Regions from separate parts of the Homo sapiens genome. Here region 1 is linked to region 2. Evidence: promoter capture Hi-C in 16 types of primary human blood cells and fetal thymus (Javierre and others, 2016). All regions are on one chromosome and are shown on one strand. The core of a region is centred on a gene start or on the middle of the fragment in contact, and the rest is flanking DNA. Distances in the headings are between cores, read along the strand shown.

What was found. Contacts are between HindIII fragments. The CHiCAGO score rates a contact against its expected background, and 5 or more counts as called.
Region 1: the fragment with the promoter of ATL3 here is called in contact with a fragment that was not itself captured in region 2 in 1 of 17 cell types (total B cells); the score reaches 5.2 in total B cells.

What each region holds. Positions count from the first base shown.
Region 1 is chr11:63,669,406-63,673,015 of GRCh38, forward strand. It overlaps ATL3 (atlastin GTPase 3), which reads right to left and starts at 1,971. Exons shown (of 13, transcript NM_015459.5): 1 at 1,885-1,971. The coding sequence starts at 1,930. RefSeq lists enhancers at 1,336-1,837, 1,838-2,337, 2,378-2,487 and silencers at 1,498-1,757, 1,788-1,847, 2,168-2,287. The HindIII fragment of the contact is 2,416 bases long and covers 1,357-3,610 here.
Region 2 is chr11:64,160,349-64,164,123 of GRCh38, forward strand. The region is part of intron 1 of MACROD1 (mono-ADP ribosylhydrolase 1); the gene reads right to left. Among named protein-coding and RNA genes, the nearest start is that of MACROD1, 3.9 kb to the right of the region's middle. The HindIII fragment of the contact is 3,366 bases long and covers 1-3,184 here.

The DNA.
Region 1 (3,610 bases), core at 721-3,220, 490 kb before region 2:
GCGCCTGTAATCCCAGCTACCTGGGAGGCTGCGGCAGGAGAATCGCTTGAACCTGGGAGGCGGAGGTTGCAGTGAGCAGAGATCGCGCCATTGCACTCCACCCTGGGCGAGAGAGCAAGACTCCTTCTCACCAGAAGAAAAAAAAAGAAAAGAAAAAGAAAATTAAGCTAGTACACAACACCACATCTATCCCGTTACTTCTATTTCATGAATTCTACTACAATGAGGTAGTAAACTGTAGCTAATACAATAATGGGCCGGGCACGATGGCTCACGCCTGTAATCCCAGTACTTGGGAGGCCGAGGAGAGGAGGGTGGTTCACCTGAGGTCAGGAGTTCGAGACCAGCCTGGCCAACGTGGTGAAACCCCGTTTCTACTAAAAATACAAAAAATTAGCTGGGCCTGGTGGCGGATGTCTATAATCCCAGCTACTCGGGAGGCTGACGCAGGAGAATCATTTGAACCCAGGAGGCGGAGGGTGCAGTGAGCCGAGACTGCGCCACTGTACTCCAGTTTAGGTAGCAAAAACGAAACTCCGTCTCAAAAAAAAATAGCCGCGCATGGTGGAGAGCGCCTGTAATCCCAGCTACCCGGGAGGATGAGGCAGAAGAATTGCTTGAACCCAGGAAGCGGAGGTTGCAATCAGCCGAGATCGCGCCATTGCACTCCAGCCTGGGTGACCAGAGCAAAACTCCGTCTCAAAAAATAATAATAAAACAATGTGCTGGACTACTGCAATACTGAGATCCTTCTCAGCCAAGTGTTTACAGGTGTTAGAGCGGCAACAGGAATTTCTGGAGTACAAGCTAATCTCTGTGGGAATGGAAAAAAAAAAGCACTAATTTGAATTTCAGTACCTATGTTGCAATGCTAAATTCTTGACAGGGATTAGTACTCCGTAGGTTATGCTTCTTAAATCTCCAAAAGTAAGCCAATATGTGAAATCGTACATTTTTGGTCCGTTATTCTAAGACTGACAAAACGTTCCATTGCTTCGTATTTGAATTTGAGAACTGAGACTCATTTAAAAATTCTTCACTGTTCTTTTCCTTTTTGCTCTTCGATTTCGCAAGTGAAACGGTCATTTCAACAGCACACACATTACACTAGAATAAAGCCAAGTAAAATGACAGACTAAATCAGATCCGTGAATACACGGTGACTCCTTATTTGGTTTTTAATACTTTCACTATGTTTCATGTCTTCGGGAAAGCAAAAGAACAACGTACTGTGCCAAAAGCACTAACTTACGAAAAACCAATTTAGACCAATTCTTTACAGCGTTAAGTATGGGTTGAAAACCAACTTTCCTAATACTTGTGGTCAGTGCCTCAAGGTCGTTAGGATAAAAATAAAGCTTCCAAGACACTTCGCAGCCTTCCAGCACTTCCAGAAAGGCCAAATAAACCAGCATTCACCTTCCCGCTCCATCCAGGCCCCGATTCTCCGACCAGAGAGGGCGCTGAGTGCCCGGGCACGGAGGGGCAGCGCCCTGGGGCGCCCGGCTCTGCCCAGGGCGGGGCTCGGCGGGGCCGAAGCTCCGGACGCCGCCCACGGGGACCACCGGCCCTTGGGCCGCCCAGGGGCAGCTGCAGCCCAGGGGAGGAGCTGGAGGAGCCCCCGGCGGCACCAGGGCCCGAGCCCTGACGGCGGCCGCCCCCGGCCGAAAAGTAAGGAAGGTGCCGCCCTCGCTGGACCAGCTGGGCCCGAAGAGGGGCCCCCCCACCACAAATTCGGAAACCGAGTGACCCCGGCGAGGGACGCGCGGTCCCAGCCCCGGGACGAGGAAGGGCGGCGGCGCGGGCGGGGGTTCTTTTCAGAACTACAGCAGGGAAGGCGGCGGGGGTGGCCGCGGGGCGATCCAGGGAAAATCGGCGCCTCACCTGCTCCTCTTGAGGCAGCTGCTGCCACTCGCTGAGGGGACAACATGGAGCCTCCGCCTTCAAAGCAGAAGCAGCAGGGGTGCAGAGGAGAGGGACGGGTGCGGGCGGGAACGAACCGGGCCCTGGAAGCGGGAAACGGGCGGAGCCTGGGCTCTAGAAAAAACTAGCCAGAAGGTGGGGCACGCGGAGCCGCGACGGAGCGAGCGCAGCGCGGTCTGCGTGGCCCAACGGACAGCCCGAGGCGTGGCGAGCGCAGGACGAGGCTAGGCGAGGCGGGGCGGGAAAGCGCACGCGGCAGAATCCCGCCACCGCCTGCCGCGTGTGCGCGAAGCGAGCCGCCGGGTACCTGTTGGCGGGGCGCTGAGTGCTACCGTCCTTTGGGAATTGTAGTCCCGCGCTCACTGGGTCCCGGCCAGCGGTCCTCATACTGCGCACTCATCTGGGGCGGGGCTTGGCGTGGTTCTCCGACGACTGAACTACAACTCCCAGCAGGCTGTGCGGGAAGGGGCGGGCTGGCTCGGGTCCTCCTGCGAGCTGCGGCCGGCGCCTAACGTGCAGACCAGGCCCCAGGCCGAGGCTTTATCCTGGAACCACCAGTGTGAGAGACAGCTTTGGTGTTTAACTAGGCCTGGGACCACAGGTGGGCAGAAGAGAGGCCTCAACCCTGGATGGCATGAACGTCACTGGGTCTTTAATGATTTTGACTTCATAAGGGCAGGTGGCCGTGACTTCATTACCACCTTTATTATCATCTCCCTATATTCCTGTCCCTGGCCATGGCTGATGCGCACCATCACCGCTCTGATAGCTAATGTAAGAAGTCCAGGCCGGGCGCCGTGCCTCACGCCTGTAATCCCAGCACTTTGGGAGGCCGAGGCGGGTGGATCACCTGAGGTCGTGGGCGTTCGAGACCAGCCTGACCAACATGGAGAATCCCCGTCTCTACTAAAAATACGAAATTAGCCAGGCGTAGTGGCGCACGCTTGTAATCCCAGCTAGTCCAGAGGCTGAACAGGAGAATCGCTTGAACCCAGGAGGCGGAGGTTGCAGTGAGCCGAGATCGCACCATTGCACACCAGCGTAGGCAACAGGAGCAAAACTCCATCAAAAAAAAAAAAAAAAAACTTGCACGCACATCCCAGCATTCTCTGCTCCTTTTCCCTGCATTACTTTTCTCCAAAAGACTTCATACCACTTGGCCAGGCGCGGTGGCTCACGCCTGTAATCCCAGCACTTTGGGAGGCTGAGGTGGTTGGATCACCTGAGGTCGGGAGTTCAAGACCAGCCAGGCTAACATGGTGAAACCCCATCTCTTCTAAAAATACAAAAAATTAACCAGGCGTGGTGGCAGGCGCCTGTAATCCCAGCTACTCGGGAGGCTGAGGCAGGAGAGGTTGCATTGAGTGGAGATGGCACCACTGCACTCCAGCCTGGGAGAAAGAGCAAGACTCCATCTCAAAAAAAAAAAAAAAAAAAAAGACTTCCTGCTACTATCTGACTTATGTTTTACCTTTCATTGTGTTTGTCTCTTCCCACTGAATGTAAGTTCCAAACAGATAGGAATTTTTGTCTGTTTTGTTTACTTGTATATCCCCAGTCCCTAAATACTGCTGGCAGATAATAGAGACTCAAATATCTATTGAATTAATGGATGAAGAAGATATATGTTACATCTAACACTGCTCACTCACTTTCTGGTTCCTTTAATATTAAATACCTAACTTTT
Region 2 (3,775 bases), core at 252-2,751:
ACAAACTGCACATATGCCTTCTGACCTATACGTCAGTCTCTTGTGAGTTTGGTTACTGTGTGCCAGGCTTTGAGAGAGGATCCTCTCAGGCAGACAAGTATTTGGAGGCCTATCTAGGTACAGCCCTGAAATGAGAGCACATGTCCATCAGAGACATGGAGAGAATGTTCAGGAAGCCAGGCACAGTGGCACACATCTGTAATCTCAGCGCTAGCACTTTTGCAGGCGGAGGTGGGAGGATCACTTGAGCCCAGGAGTTCGAGACCAGCCTGGGGCAACATAATGAGACCCTGTCTCTGCAAGACATTTTTAAAAACATTAGCCAGGCATGGTGGCACATGCCTATAGTCCCAGCTACTCAGGAGGCTGAGGTGGGAGGATGGTTTGAGCCCAGAAGTTGGAGGCTGCAGTGAGCTGTGATTGCACCACTGCACTCCAGCCTGGGCAACAGAATGAGACCATATCTAAAAAAAAAAAAAAAAAAAATGTTCAGCACAGTTTTATTCACAAGAAACCCAAATGCCTATCAACAAAAGAGTGGGGGCCGGGATGGTGGCTCACACTTGTAATCCCAGCACTTTGGGAGGCCGAGACAGGTAGACCACCTGAGGTCAGTATTTTGAGACCAGCCTGGCCAACATGGTGAAACTCCGTCTCTACTAAAATACAAAAATTAGCCAGGCGTGGTGGCGGGTGCCTGTAATCCCAGCAACTCTGGAGGCTGAGGCAGGAGAATCGCTTGAACCCAAGAAACGGAGGTTGCAGTTAGCCAGGATCGTGCCACTACACTCCAGCCTGGGCGACAGAGCAAGACTCCATCTCAAAAAACAAAACCAAACAAAACAACAAAAGAGTGGGAAACAAGCTGTGGTACGTTCATATGCTGGAACACTATACAGCAATGAAAAAGAGGGAACCATTGCCACATCCAATAACAAGGACGAACTGGCCGGATATTGAGTAAAAGGGGCCAGACTTCAAGAAGAGACAAAATGAACAGATATCACAAGAGTGATTAGCTCCAGACAGTACCAAGTGAAAAGAGGCGACTTCTGGCGTGATGGCAATGCTCTACCTTTTGACCCAAGTAGTGACTGCACAGTTGCATACACTGTGCACTGAAGATCTCTACACTTGCAGCACTTGACTGTCAAATGTAACTTGGCTGAAAGTGTGATTTGAATGTAACGATGAAAAGTGTAGCAGTCTTCAAGGGCCACGGCTCAGACCCTAATCAAAGGCAGAGTCCAGCTGGGGCAGCCCCCCAGATCTCCCATAATGTGATGGCTTAAAAAATACACTTGGCCAGGCACAGTGGCTCACACCTGTCATGCCAGCATTTTGGGAGGCTGCGGTGGGCGGATTGCTTGAGGCCAGGAGTTTGAGACCAGCCTGGGTAACATGGTGAAACCCAGTCTCTACAATAAAGGTTTTAAAACATTAGCAGCCCATGGCTCACACCTGTAACCTCAGCACTTTGGGAGGCCGAGGTGGGTAGATCGCTTGAGCTTAGGAGTTTGAGACCAGCCTGGGCAACATGGTGAAACCCAGTCTCTACAATAAAGGTTTTAAAACATTAGCAGCCCATGGCTCACACCTGTAACCTCAGCACTTTGGGAGGCCGAGGTGGGTAGATCGCTTGAGCTTAGGAGTTTGAGACCAGCCTGGGCAACATGGTGAAACCCAGTCTCTACAATAAAGGTTTTAAAACATTAGCAGCCCATGGCTCACACCTGTAACCTCAGCACTTTGGGAGGCCGAGGTGGGTAGATCGCTTGAGCTTAGGAGTTTGAGAACAGCCTGGGCAACATGTCAAAATTCTGTCTCTACAAAAAAATACAAAAAATTAGCTAGGCGTGGTGGCGTATGCCTGTAGTTCCAGCTACTTGGGAGACTGAGGTGGGAGGATCGCTTGAGCCCAGGAGGTTGAGGAAGCAGTGAGCTGAGATCTCACAACTGCACTCCAGCGTGGGCAACAGACCTTGTCTCAAAAGAAAAAAAAAAATTAGTTGCACATGGTGATGCGCGCCTGTACTTCCAACTACTCAGGTGGCTGAGGCAGGAGGATCGCTGAGCCCAGCAGTTTAAGGGTGCAGCTAGCTATGATTACACCACTGCACTTCAGCCTGAGCAACTGAGCGAGACCCTGTCTCGAAAAAAATTTAAATTAATTTTAAAAATTTTGGCCGGCCACAGTGGCTCACGACTGTAATCCCAGCACTTTGGGAGGCTGAGGCGGGCAGATCACGAGGTCAGGAGATTGAGACCATCCTGGCTAACACAGTGAAACCCTGTCTCTACTAAAGAATACAAAAAATTATCTGGGCATGGTGACGGGCACCTGTAATCCCAGCTATTCGGGAGGCTGAGGCAGGAGAATGGCATGAACCCAGGAGGAGGAGCTTGCAATGAACCAAGGTCGCGCCACTGCACTCCAGCCTGGGTGACAGAGCAAGACTCCATCTCAAAAAAAAAAAATTTAAGAAAATTGGCCAGGCCCAGTGACTCACGCCTGTAACCCCAGCACTCCGGGAGGCCGAGACGGGCAGATCACGAGGTCCGGAGATCAAGACCATCCTGACTAACACGATGAAATCCTATCTCCACCAAAAACACAAAAAAATTAGCCGGGCGTGATGGCACGCGTCTGTAATCCCAGCTACTGGGGAGGCTGAGGCAGGAAAATCACTTGAACCCCGGAGGCGGAGGTTGCAGTGAGCTGAGATCACACCACTGCACTCCAGCCTGGGCAACAGAATAAGTCTTCATCTAAAAAACAAACAAACAAACAAACAAACAAACAAAAATTAGCCGGGTATAGTGGTGGGTGCCTGTAATCCCAGCTACTCAGGAGGCTGAGGCAGGAGAATCACTTGAACCCGGGAAGCAGAGGTTGCAGTGACATCACACCACTGCACTCCAGCCTGGACAAAAAGAGTGAAACTGTCTCAAAAAAAAATTTTTTTAAGAAAATAAAAACACACCTTCAAATTCTTTGAGATTCTTTCTTTCAAGAGGTAGAGCCTAATTTCCCTCTCCTGGAGTATGGCCAGACTCCCTGACTCGATTCTGACCCCTAGAATAAAGCAGGAGAGACTTCGAAGACGAGGTCACAAAGAAGGCACTGCAGCTCCATCGGGGTCTCCTCACGATCCCTCTCGTGGAGCATATGCTCTGGGGGAAAAGCTTAGGACATCTATCCCATGTGAGGCACTCAAGCAGCCCCATGGAGAGGCCCCAAAGTGACCAACCGAGGCCTCTCACCAAATGCCATTTTATGGGAGGGAGCTGTTTAGGAAGCCCATCCTCCAGCCCTAACCAAGTCCCACCCGGCCTCAGAGGGAGGGAGACCCTGAGCTAGAACCACCCAGCTAAGCTTCTCTCAGTTTCCTGACCCTCAAGAGATGGAGAGAATGCAGGTTTGCTGTTTTACGCCACTAAGGTTCGGGGTGTTTTGTTACACAGAAATAGATAACTATTGGGGGATCTCCACATCTCACCCCCGAAAGCGTCCCTCTAACTGTGGCTTCAGTAGCAGGCAGAGCCCCAGACCAGCCCCACTCCTTGGGCCTGGCCCACTGTCACTCAATAACGGGTCTGGAATATCATTACCCAGCTGGATGCCTCTTCTCAGGCCACCACCCCTGAGACGCCTCCTCTGATCTCCCCAGCTCAGGTGGCCCCATCTGCTATGGTGTCTTCACAGCACTGAGGTTACCGGGCCTTGTCTCAGCTGCTAGAACACATTCTTTACAATAGATGCTTTGTAATCCTC